Linked DNA regions of Homo sapiens: region 1 is linked to region 2. The links are contacts of gene promoters, found by promoter capture Hi-C in blood cells and fetal thymus (Javierre and others, 2016). All regions are on one chromosome and are shown on one strand. The core of a region is centred on a gene start or on the middle of the fragment in contact, and the rest is flanking DNA. Distances in the headings are between cores, read along the strand shown. Region 1 has its middle 34 kb from the start of FOSL2-AS1. Region 2 holds the start of SUPT7L (SPT7 like, STAGA complex subunit gamma).

Region 1 (5,890 bases), core at 1,864-4,363, 770 kb before region 2:
TCTGGGCTTCTTATGGCCCCATCCACCAGTTCTGCCCCAAGGCAGGTCTAAGTTCCAGAAAAGACTTAGGCAGCCTAATAGGACTTGGGGCCAAGGGAGCTTCCCAGGGACCCTGACCCTGGACCTGGTGCCTAAGGGTCGACAAGTGATCTCCAAGAGGTGCCCCAGGCAAGTGGCCACAGACCTGGCCCAGGTCATCCTGGCAGCAAGGTGCTCTGCATAAAATCCTTGAAGGGTATGGTATCCAAGCCAGGGCCAGGCGTGGGTTAGGTGGGGGTGCTGGGCCCGCTGGTGGGGAAAGCAGGCTGAGGGACTTCAACCAGTGGCCATCCACCTCATGAGCTTGTCCTGACTTGGAGAGACAGCACATGTCTTGAGGATGCAGCTGCAGATATAACAGATCTGTCTGTGGCAGAGAGAGATGGTGGGGTGAGCGGGATTGGATTAGGGGGTACCATCTGCAGGGTGCCAATGGCATGCTGGCTCCCATGATGGGCTCAGATCTCTGTTCTGTCAGTCTCAAGCTGTGTGCCCTTGGACCAGCTATTTAGCCCCTTCCTCGATTTTCCCATCTCTAAAGTGAGGGTAATGATAGTGTCTACTACATAGGCTGCTGTGTGTTAAGTGCATAGAACAGCTGGCGCATGGTGAGGCTGCTTCGGTGCTAGTGGCAATTCCTTGTGGCCCCTTCAGGGATCTCCCAGCTGCGCCTGGCAGGCAAGGGCCCCTTCAGGGTTTCCACACTACCCAGTGCCACTCTCAACCAGTCACCCTCTTACACCTGCTCCCAGGGCCCATGTGTGGCCTACTGCCCAGGGAGGAAAGGAGTGCTGGCTCTGGGGTGGTGGTTATGAGGCTGGGGGCTCTGAAATGCCAGAAGCACGGCCCCTGGTGTGAGAGGAGAGGACAGGAGGAGGTGGGGTTCCAGAGTAGCAGAGACACTAAACAGGGAGATCCTCCCAGGGCTGAGCCGAGCACACCTGCTGGTCACCAAATGCCCAGGGTTGGGCATCAGAGACAGCCTCATATGGGCCAGAGCTCCTTAGCTCTGTGTCACAATGCCGAGGTGTCTTTCATTATCTCAGGGGCCATTGTGAAAACATCTGTGTGCCAGGAAGCCCTGCTGAGAAGGTGGAAGTAGGCGTCACAAAGTCAGAAATACTGATGGGTTTGGTTCCACTCTGGAGAGGCAGGTTGTAGGGGATGGATCTGGATACTGATTCTGGCTGCAGGACCAGCATGCCAGGGCCTTCAGAATCCTCCAATGGCTCATGGAGATGGACAGGTATGCTGACCCACTCGGGAGCACAGCTACCTCCCACAGGAAGGACCCTCTCCCAGGAAGAGGGCAGGGGATCAGTGCAGAGCAGCTCAACAAAACCTCCACAGTTTGCCTGGCAAGTGGTGCATTAGTGGCTGAGCTGGAAGCAGTGGCAGCCTGTGGTGTTCTAATGCCATTGTCAAAAGGTGTAGAGAGGCAGCACTTAGGGCGTGAGGTGCAGACTATCAGTTCATCTGACCTGTTAAGGATTCTCAGAAAAGCCCCGACTTAGGAAGGGGTGGAAATCGTGACCCCGGAGGAAGCCCAGGCCTGCAGCTAGCTACTGTGTGGCCTTGGACAAATTGCTTCAACTCTCTGGGTTTACCCTTCCTCTTGTTATAATAAGGACAACGACTACATAATGATAGCATTAACCACCCTGCAGCACTTACTATATTTGAGTGACTTTAGCACATTATCTCATGTAATCCTTATGACAACCCTATGAAATAGATATTATTATCCTCATTTTGCAGATGAGAAAATGAAAGTTCAAGGAGGTTAAGTAACGTGTTCAAGGTCACTCAACAAATAAGGACTTTAAACCCTGGAATGGCCAGTTCCAAAGCACCTGCTAAAACTCCCAGCTGGGATCCCTCTGGGCCAGTTATGTGCTCCATCCTCAGCATGAAAAATTGAGAGAGGTTGCCTAGGTTCCTTTGCACTCCACCTCACCGCTGCTTGAGGGCTTGGGCTCTCAGCTTTGTGCACAGGGGATAGGCAGAGATGGCCCTAGTCCACCATCAGGCCCTGCATGACATGGAGCAGTAGGAGCCCTGTGGCCTCCACAACCCACACTGTTGCTTGCTCTTGCAGGCTCCAGAGGTCTTTTGACTTGTCTAAGAAGGGCTACTGATTGTCATCTATTTCTCACATCTCAGCAATAGCATGCTGGCTTGAGTTTAAACTGAGCCCTCCTTTGCAAAAGCTTAGTCCATACATTCTTCACACAGCAACTTCCTAATCATCCATTTAATAAAACAATAACTCCTATGAAAACCTCTACAAAGGGCCTTTTTGTCCAAGGCTCATTTAATGCTCACAGCCAACCAGCAGGGGATATTACTATTTTCATCATTTTGGTGGTCAACCGAGGCAGAAAGGTGACCAACAGCAGGCACTGCAGAGTCCTCTGTGGCTCCTCGATGACCAGATGGGTAGCCTTGGACAAGTCACCCATTTGTCGGAGCCTGTTTTTTTCTCATGTATAACCTGGAGGTAATTGTGGGGACTAAAAACAGAGTGGGTGTGCAATGCTTTGCACTGCTGCAGAGTAAGCACTCAAAACCAACAGCTTTTATTTTCTCTTTTTCAGGTCCGATTTTTTTTTTTTTTTTTTTTTTTTTGAGACAGGGTCGTACTCTGTTGCCCAGGCTGGGTGCAGTGGTGCCAAATCCCAGTTCACAGCAGCCTTGATCTCTCAGGCTCAAGTGATCCTCCTGCCTCAGCCTCCCGAGTAGCTAGTATTACAAGTGGCACATCAGCATACCTGGCTAACTTTTTAAATTTTTTTATAAAGATGGGGTCCCACCATATTGCCCAGGCTGGTCTCAAACCAACTTTTAAAAATAGCCTTTATTTTTTAGAGTGGTTTTAGGTTCACAGCAAAATTAAGCAGAAAGTACAGAGTGATCCCAGATACTCCCTGCCCACACACGTGCATAGGGTCCTCCACTGTCAACAGCTCCAACCAGAGTGGTGCATTTCTTTCCATCAATGAACCTGCACTGACTTATCATTATCACCTGGATTCCACAGTTTACACTAGGATTCCCTCACTTACAGACATGCAGTTAAGTTTTTTCCATGTCTTTTTGTGGTTTCATGGCTCATATTTTTTTTTTTTTGTAGCACTGAATACTGAATAGTATTCCATTGTCTGGATATACCCCAGTTTATTTATTCAGCATCTACTGAGGGTCATCCTTGTAGCGTCTAAGTTTTAGCAATTGTGAATAAAGCTGCTATAAAATTGGTGTGCAGGTTTCTGTGTGGATGTACATTTTCAGTTCCTTTGGGTAAATACCAAGGAGCATAATTGCTGAGTCGCCTGGTAACAATATGTTTAATTTTGTGAAAAACCACCAAACTGTCTTCCAAAGTATTTGTTCTGTTTTGCATTCCCACTGGCAATGAATGAAACTTTATTTTATTTTATTTTTTGAGACAGGATTTTGCTTTGTCATCCAGACTGGGGTGCAGTGGCCCAAACATGGCTCACTGCGGCCTCAATCTCCTGGGCCCAAGTGATCCTCCTGCCTCTGTCCCCCAAGTAGCTGGGACTACAGGCACACACCACCATGCTCTGCTATTTTTTGTATTTTTTGTAGAGATGGGTTTTTGCCATGTTGCCCAGGCTGCTCTCAAACTCCTGAGCTCAACGATCTGGCAGCCTTGGCCTCCCAAAATGCTGGGATTACAGGTGTGAGCCACTGCACCCGGCCGAGACTTTTATTTTAAATCACAGATGAAAGTGACTTGCTTAAGATTACACAACTATTAGTTGGTAGAGCAGCACTTCTGGTTCCATACTCTGGGTAGTTTCTGTTTGACCACACTGTCCCCTCAGCTAGACAAGCCAATCCCATGCCCTTACAAACACTCCCACATTTCCTGACCCTTGCTTTTGAGGCCTCATTCTTGGTGCAGAAGCTTCCTGAGGCATCCTTCTTCTGCTCCATGAAGGAAAGACTGTCATCCATCCAGGTCCTGTGTCTGAGAAGCTTGCGATGCTCTTGCAGTGCCCTGGCATGCGCAGGGGCCAATGTCCAGTTGTCCAAGCTTACCTGTGCCAAGAGAGGACCCGGGTGGCTCTGCAAGGCCCTCTTTCTAGTCAGAAGAGACCCGGCCAGCCCCAGAATCTGAGGAGTCACTGGAACGTCATCAGGGACTAGGAGAGGAAAAGGCCCCCATGGCGCTCCCCTCTCTCCAGATCCAAGCTCTTTCTTTGTCTCTTTTTGATGCGAAATTCACATAACATAAAAATTAACCATTTTAGGCCAGGCATGGTGGCTCATGCCTGTAATCCCAGCACTTTGGGAGACCAAGGTGGGTGAATGACATGAGGCCAGGAGTTCGAGACCAGCCTGGCCAACATGGAGAAAGCCCATCTCCACAAAATAAATAAAAAACAACGAAATTGACCATTTTAAAGTGAACAATTCAGTGGCATTTAGCACATTCACGACGCTGTGCAGCTACCACTTTTATCTAGTTCCAACACTCTCATCACTCCAAAGAGAAACCCCATCCCTGTTAAGCAGCCAGTGTCGCTTTTCGCCCTCTTCCTAGCCCCGGACAGCCACCAATCTGTGTTCTGTCTCTTTGGGTTTACCCAGTCTGGTAATGGAATAAATGGAATCATACAACATGTGGCCTTTTGTGTCTGGGTCCAAGTTATTTTCCATTACTCCCTGAGGAAGGAGGAGGAGAAGGGACCTCTTCTGCCTTTGTCTCCCTCCCCGTCCCTTGTCCACCTTGCCCTGTGCGCCCACCAGCAGCACCTGTGGCTCAGCTCCTCCATTCTATGCTATTTCCTATTTCTCTTTTTTATTTTTTGAAAAAGGGACTCACTCTGTTGCCCAGGCTGGAGTGCAGTGACGTGACCGTAGCTCACTGCAGCCTCAACCTCCCAGGCTCAAGTGACACTCCCACCTCAGCCTCCTGAGTAGCTGGGACTACAGCATGCACCACTACGGCCAACTAATTTTTAAAACTTGTTTTTTGTAGAGACTGAGTTTCGCCATGTTGCCCAGGCTGGTCTCGAATTCTTGGCCTCAAGTGATCCTCCTGCCTCTGCCTCCCAATGTGCTGGGATCACAGGCATGAGCCACCATACTCAGCCTCCTATTCCTTTTTTTTTTTTTCAATTTTGTACATTTTTAATTCTAAATTTTCTCATTACACAAATAAAAAGTGAAGTAATAGCTGTTGAAATGTTGGCTCTATTAGCATAAAAAGAATTTGCAAACGGTTAAATATTTCCAATTTCATATCAATGTCATCAGTTGCTTTGAAGGAAAAAAACAGTTAATTCCAATAGTGTTTGATTTTTATTTTTCATCTAATTCATAACATCCTATTCCTTTTAATTACCCTTAGCAGAGTACTTTGAGGAGTCATAGATGCATTCAACAAATAGCCCATAGGCTAGCAGCGGGGAGAGACAGGTTAAGTGTCATTAAAACTGTGATAAGGCAACACTAGCAGTTTTACAGAGAGCCAGGGGACCCAGAGGAGAGACAACTAATTCAGCCTGGAGGTGAGGCTGGTGAGGGAAGACAACACGGAGGAGACAGATGCGGGGCGGGGGAGGGCAGGCCGGGTCTGTCTTGTTCACTGTTCCTCAGCACTCAGGGTAGTTCCTGGCAACTAGAACGGGGATGAGTGAACAAGTTAATGAATCAAGCAGGCAATCTATCAGCCAAGAGCTGAAGAATTAATAGGAGTTGTCTCTACCAGAAAAAATGGGTAGAGCATATCTGGAGACTTGTAGGCAAGAGGGTCAGCCCTTTTATTACACTGAGTGGTATTTCGGTCTAGATGAAGGTTGAAGAAGATGGGGGGTAA
Region 2 (5,516 bases), core at 2,796-5,295:
AATGAGATGAGTCAGGAAAAAGTACTTCCTTTTTTTAAGATAAGAAGAAAGACTAACAAGATTTTTATGATTTTTTTCCCCTCTGCCATACTAATGAGGAATAATTTTCAAAATAAACCTAAAGCAACTGACCACAAGAGTAAAAAGTGAACAAGAAGGACAGCAATAAAATTATAGCATATCTTAGTATAAAGCTCAACATGAAGCTCTAGAAAACCACACTGCTCTGGATATGTTTTAGTGGTAGGGTCAGAATCTGTTTACATACCTTCTCGGTCAAAAAAGCCTTGGAGAGCCTTTTTGGGATCCTTTATATAAAAGGCCTCCCTTTCCTGCTGAAACTCTAAGACAATAGGGTTCTCTTCAGCATCATCCTCTACTGCATCTTCTCCTACAGGATATGGAAAAGAAAGAAAAGATAATCAGACATGAGAAGAGACTATTTGAATGATACCCACTATTCTCTCAGGCTGCATAAAGATATAGTTTAGGCTGGGCGCAGTGGCTCATGCCTGTAATCCCAGCACTTTGGGAGGCCAAGGCAGGTGGATCACAAGGTCAGGAGTTCAAGACCAGCTTGGCCAACATGGTGAAACCCCATCTCTACTAAAAATACAAAAAAAATTAGCTGGGCACAGTGGCGGGTGTCTGTAATCCCAGCTACTTGGGAGGCTGAGGCAGGAGAATTGCTTGAACCTGGGAGGAAGAAGTTGTAGTGAGCCAAGATCGCGCTACCTGCACTCCAACCCAAGCAACACAGTGAGACCGTCTCCCAAAAAAAAAAAAATATATATATATATATAGTTTATCTGTGATGAAAAATAATAAATACTTGCAGGGACAGGGGGTGGAACAACCACCACAAAACCACTAGTATGAGCATATTCAGGTTTTCTAAATTGTGTGACAAGTCAAAACTTGTTTTCATGGCACCTTAATTTTTTTTTCTCCATCATTATATTTTAAAAGTAAAATTACCTACCACATTGTGGAAAAAAAATTTGAGCTCCTCAGCCTGGCATTCTTGTTCTCTCACACTCATATCTAACTTTCGTTCCCAATATAATTTCCTAATACTTCTTATATCTGCCAAATAGACTGGTCTACTCACAACTTCCTTAAAATCATCAATTCCTACCCTGAATACCAATCCCAATACTCAGCTTCATAAGGCTTTTCCTTTCCTTCAAGTTCCAGCTCAAAATCCTTATGCTCATAAAGCTTCCCTGTGGAGTGCGATCGCTCACGCCTGTAATCTCTACACTTTGGGAGGCCGGGGGGCGGGGTGGGGGGGGGGGGTGGGGGGTGGATCACAAGGTCAGGAGTTCAAGACCAGCCTGGCCAATATGGTGAAACCCCATCTCTACTAAAATAAAAAAAATTAAGTTTCCCAAAGATCTAAGTCAGTGCTGTCCAACAGAAATATAATGACAGCTGTATGCGTCATCTTAAATTTTCTATTAGCCACATTAAAAAATTAAAAGGAAACAGGTAAAATTATTGTCATTTCAACATGTCATCAATATAAAAATATCATGAAAGAGATATTTTACATTCTTTTTTTCAGACTAAGTCTTTGAAATTCAGTGTGTATTTTGCATTTACAGCACACATCAATTGCAACTAGCCACACTGCAAGTGCTCAGTAACCACATGTGGCTAGTGGCTACCATATCAGACAACACAGGTCTAAGTCCCCAGTGACTGTTCTCTCTTCTCCAAACTTTCACTCTAGCATACTTATGGTTTCTAGCTTTTGTTTGGCACTTAGCACAAGTAATTTCATAATTTTTCCTATCTTCCCAACTATATATTAATGCCATCTTCTACCTTTTTATACTCCCATCTCCTGAATATCCATTTTCTAAAATATCTGGTGTTAAAGAAAGTTTATTATTTTGGCTAAGGGACCAGCTTTATCTGATTAGATATTCCACATTTCAGGATATCTTCACAAAGTACAAAAAATTCAAGAGAATATCCTATATTGAATAACATCCCATTTATTTGATTGAATAGAGTTCCATCCCCTCCAATGATAATCACATAGCACAAGGTCAGTACTTAATAAATATAAAATTTTAGAATTGTAAAAATAATAATTTTATGCTTAGGACAAGTTTTGAACAAGAGAGTGCATTAAAAATAAATTTTTAAAAAATCCAAAGTGCCTATAAGTCAATTTCTTTACAACAGTAAAGTCAGTGAATCTCTCTGGGTTTTGGTTACCTCATGTGCAAATTGTGTTTGCCCTATCTATCTCAAGGAGCCATGAAAAGCTGTATGATTTAAAAAAACATTTAAGGGTACCACTTGTAATGAACTTAAAATATTAACCTCCGGCAGCAATTTTAATTTCTTACCCATTCCCCAGGTGCAACCCATCTCATCATCTTGGCTACCAGCATTTATCTTCCTTTCAGAGGTATCCATTTCCTCTTCTTCATCTGAGTCTTCTCCTAGCATCTTCTTCTCCAACAATATTTGCTGCTGCTTGCGCAATTCCTTCAACTGTGTTACTGTTAACTCGGATTCTGCCTCTCGGTCTTCCTCTGGTCCCTGATGAACCAAGGAAAAAAAGGTTATTTATTTATTTAGAGACAGGGTCTTGCTCTGTCGCCTAGGCTGGACTGGAGTGCAGTGGCTGTAATACACCTCACTGCAGCCTTGACCTCCTGGGCTCAGGTGATCCTCCCACCTCAGCCTCCTGAGCAGCTGGGACCATGATGCCTGGCTAATTTTTTTTTTTTTTTTTAAGAGACAGGGTCTTGCCATGTTGCCCAGCCTCCTCTCAAACTCCTGGGCTAAAGCGATCCTCCCGCCTGGGCCTCCCAAAGTGTTGGGATTACAGGCGCGAGCCACCGCGCCTGGCCAAACAAGTTATTTTAGAGTTCGGGATTGTGAACATGACTTTCAGAAATATAGCAATGTGTACAGCCGTCTGAAGATGATAGGCCAGACTTGATTCCTTCACTTTCGTAATCGCTGAGTGGGAGATTCTTCTTCCTCATCCAAAGCTTAAGAAGCACAAGAACGCAGTCCAATGAACCCGAAATTTCAATTCTAGGTTTTTCTACCTACCTGCAGGATAAAGAGCCGGGTGCTGCCTCCAAAGCGAACAACATGCCCAACGTGGACTCGACAGTAGGTGCGAGGTGGGATGCGAGTTTTGTTGAGAAAAGTGCCATGGGTGCTTCCCAGATCGTAGAGGTAGAAGCCCGGCCCGTTGCTGTCGCATTCTCCGTCAGGGCCGGACGCCCTGTGCTGCAGCACTGCGTGGTACCGAGACACCGAAGGGTGCTCCAGGCACACGTCGCAGCCAGACAGCCTCCCGAAAAGGCAGTAACTCGTCCCTTTCAAGCTACGGGTGCCAAGGATAGTGCCGCCCTTCAGGGTCTCTAAGCTGTAGGGGGCTGTGGCAGGGCCACCCCATGGAGGCTCTTGGTAGGGGGGAGCCCGGGCTGGACCGCCAGGGGAAGAAACCGCTGTCGGGGGGCGCGACTGCTCCTCCTGTAGACTCCTAAAATCACCGCAGTCCGGCTGAGGAGGAGGGATGTCGGGCTCCCCAGAATTGGAGTCCTGCAACGCAGTGGGCCCTTCCTTCTGTACCTCCTCAGGGTTTGAAGAACTGCTGGCCGGGGCCTTACTCCGCGCCGCTGGGGACACCGGCAGAGCTGGCTTCTTGAAGTCCCCACTGAGGTCTTGCGACGCCAGGGTCTCTGACTGAGAGAGAATGTCAGCCATCCTCAACCGGTGCAACTTCGAAATCCGCTCCTTCGAAACCCACCCTTCGGTCTTTACGTTCCTGTCCACGTCCCACTCTCCCAAGCTCCCAGTGGCGTCTGTAGGCGGCGATGGTGAAGTTGCTCCTTCACGACCTGGAGCGTTGCGAAGTGGTGCTAACATGAGAAGGTCATAATATGAGAAAAACAAAACGGTTATCGGGATGCTGTGCAGAACGGGGACATATTTAGAGGTTACAACGGGATCGTAATGACTTCCTGTTGCATAGCTTGATTGAGAAGAAGCGCTTCCGGCGGTCTTAGATCACTAATCAACAAACCAGCTTTCGGGGTCTGACGCGATCCTTGCCTCAGGCCTCTCGAGGTCCAGACAGCCGCCCAGCCCGCTCTGCGACGCAGCAGTGAATAGTGTGGTACCTCCTTGTCTCGGTTCAGGTCCAGACCTCCCCGTCTTCCGGCTGCCCTGAACGTCAGGCGACCTCAGGACCCTGTGATTGGCGCCTGCGCCGGCGGACCGTGACCGAGGAAACCCCTGGAGGGACTTGGGCATTCCTTGGGCTCCGTGCCTGTTCTTCGTGCTCCTTTCGGTAAAGTAAGGGAAGAGGGCGACTTTTTTGTTATTTCGTTCATTCATTTATTTTTTTTCTGAAATTATTAAGGCAGAATAGTTAAGTGGTTAAGAGAGCAGACTCTGGAGACTGTCGATTTTTGACCTCGCCATTTGTGACATTGGGCAAGACACTAGGCCTCAGCCCTCACTCTGAAAAATGGGGATAAGATTATTAGCCTCATAGGGTTGTTGGAAGAATTGAATCAAACAATAAAGGCCAGCCAGACCGGTGGCTCATGCCTGTAATCCCAACATTTTGGGAGGCTGAGGCGGGAGGATTGCTTGAGCCCAGGAGTTCCAGAGGAGGCTGGGCAACATGGCGAGACCCTGTCTCGCCAAAAAAAAAAAAAAAAAAGAAAAAATCCAGGTTTGATGGTGCGCGCCTGTAGTCCCAGCTACTCCAGAGGCTGAGGTGGGAGGATTGCTTGGTCCCAGGAGGTTGAGGCTGCAGTGAACCATGACTGCACCACTGCACTCCAGCCTGGGCTACAGAGTGAAACCCTGTCTCAAAAAAGAAACAAACAAAAAAGGTGAAGTCTGGCATATAGTAAACATTCAACAAATGCCAGATATTTCTGTGTGCCTGGCCCTGTAACAAGACCACAGCCATAAGAAATAGACGGGCAGAAAAAATCTATTGCGATAAGTACTAATTAAAATCCAAGGATAACTGCTGTGACATAGACTTGCAAAGCACTGTGAGAATAGAGAAAGGGAGATGCACTGGTGAAGTGACGGACGGTGGGGACTTATGCTGTACTTAAAAATGAATATGAGTCTGCCAGGGATGTGCAAGGTTGGCAGAGCATTTCTGGCAGAGTTCACAGCTGAAAGTGTCAATTGTGGAAATGTACAGCATTCTCAAGAAACTGAGTAGTATAATGTTGTTAGAACAAAGGTAGTCATTTCACCCAGGAAGCTCCTCCTTTGTGCTTCCAGTACCCCAGGTCCATATACCTCTAGAACAGTACTTACCATGTTTCATATTGAAATATTCTGCTTCTGTTTCTCTTCCTCACTTCAGGGCAAGGATCTCACATTATCAGTCTTTGACCGACACAGAATGCCTGGCATTTGATAAATGTTTGTTGAACTTGAAGAGACATATGGACAATGAATCTGCAAAGGTGAGTTGAAACCAGATTGTGAATTTTGTTGAATGG

What was found. The method cuts DNA at HindIII sites, captures the fragments that hold promoters and counts their contacts. A CHiCAGO score of 5 or more calls a contact.
Region 1: a contact is called between a fragment that was not itself captured here and the fragment with the promoter of SUPT7L in region 2, in 1 of 17 cell types (endothelial precursors). The highest score is 5.5, in endothelial precursors.

What each region holds. Positions count from the first base shown.
Region 1 is chr2:28,426,184-28,432,073 of GRCh38, reverse strand. No RefSeq gene overlaps it. Among named protein-coding and RNA genes, the nearest start is that of FOSL2-AS1, 34 kb to the right of the region's middle. The HindIII fragment of the contact is 1,724 bases long and covers 2,252-3,975 here.
Region 2 is chr2:27,662,143-27,667,658 of GRCh38, reverse strand. It overlaps SUPT7L (SPT7 like, STAGA complex subunit gamma), which reads left to right and starts at 4,045. Exons shown (of 6, transcript NM_014860.3): 1 at 4,045-4,330; 2 at 5,378-5,480. The coding sequence starts at 5,467. It overlaps SLC4A1AP (solute carrier family 4 member 1 adaptor protein), which reads right to left and starts at 3,770. Exons shown (of 14, transcript NM_018158.3): 1 at 3,082-3,770; 2 at 2,364-2,559; 3 at 269-391. The coding sequence starts at 3,744. The HindIII fragment of the contact is 6,150 bases long and covers 3,020-5,516 here.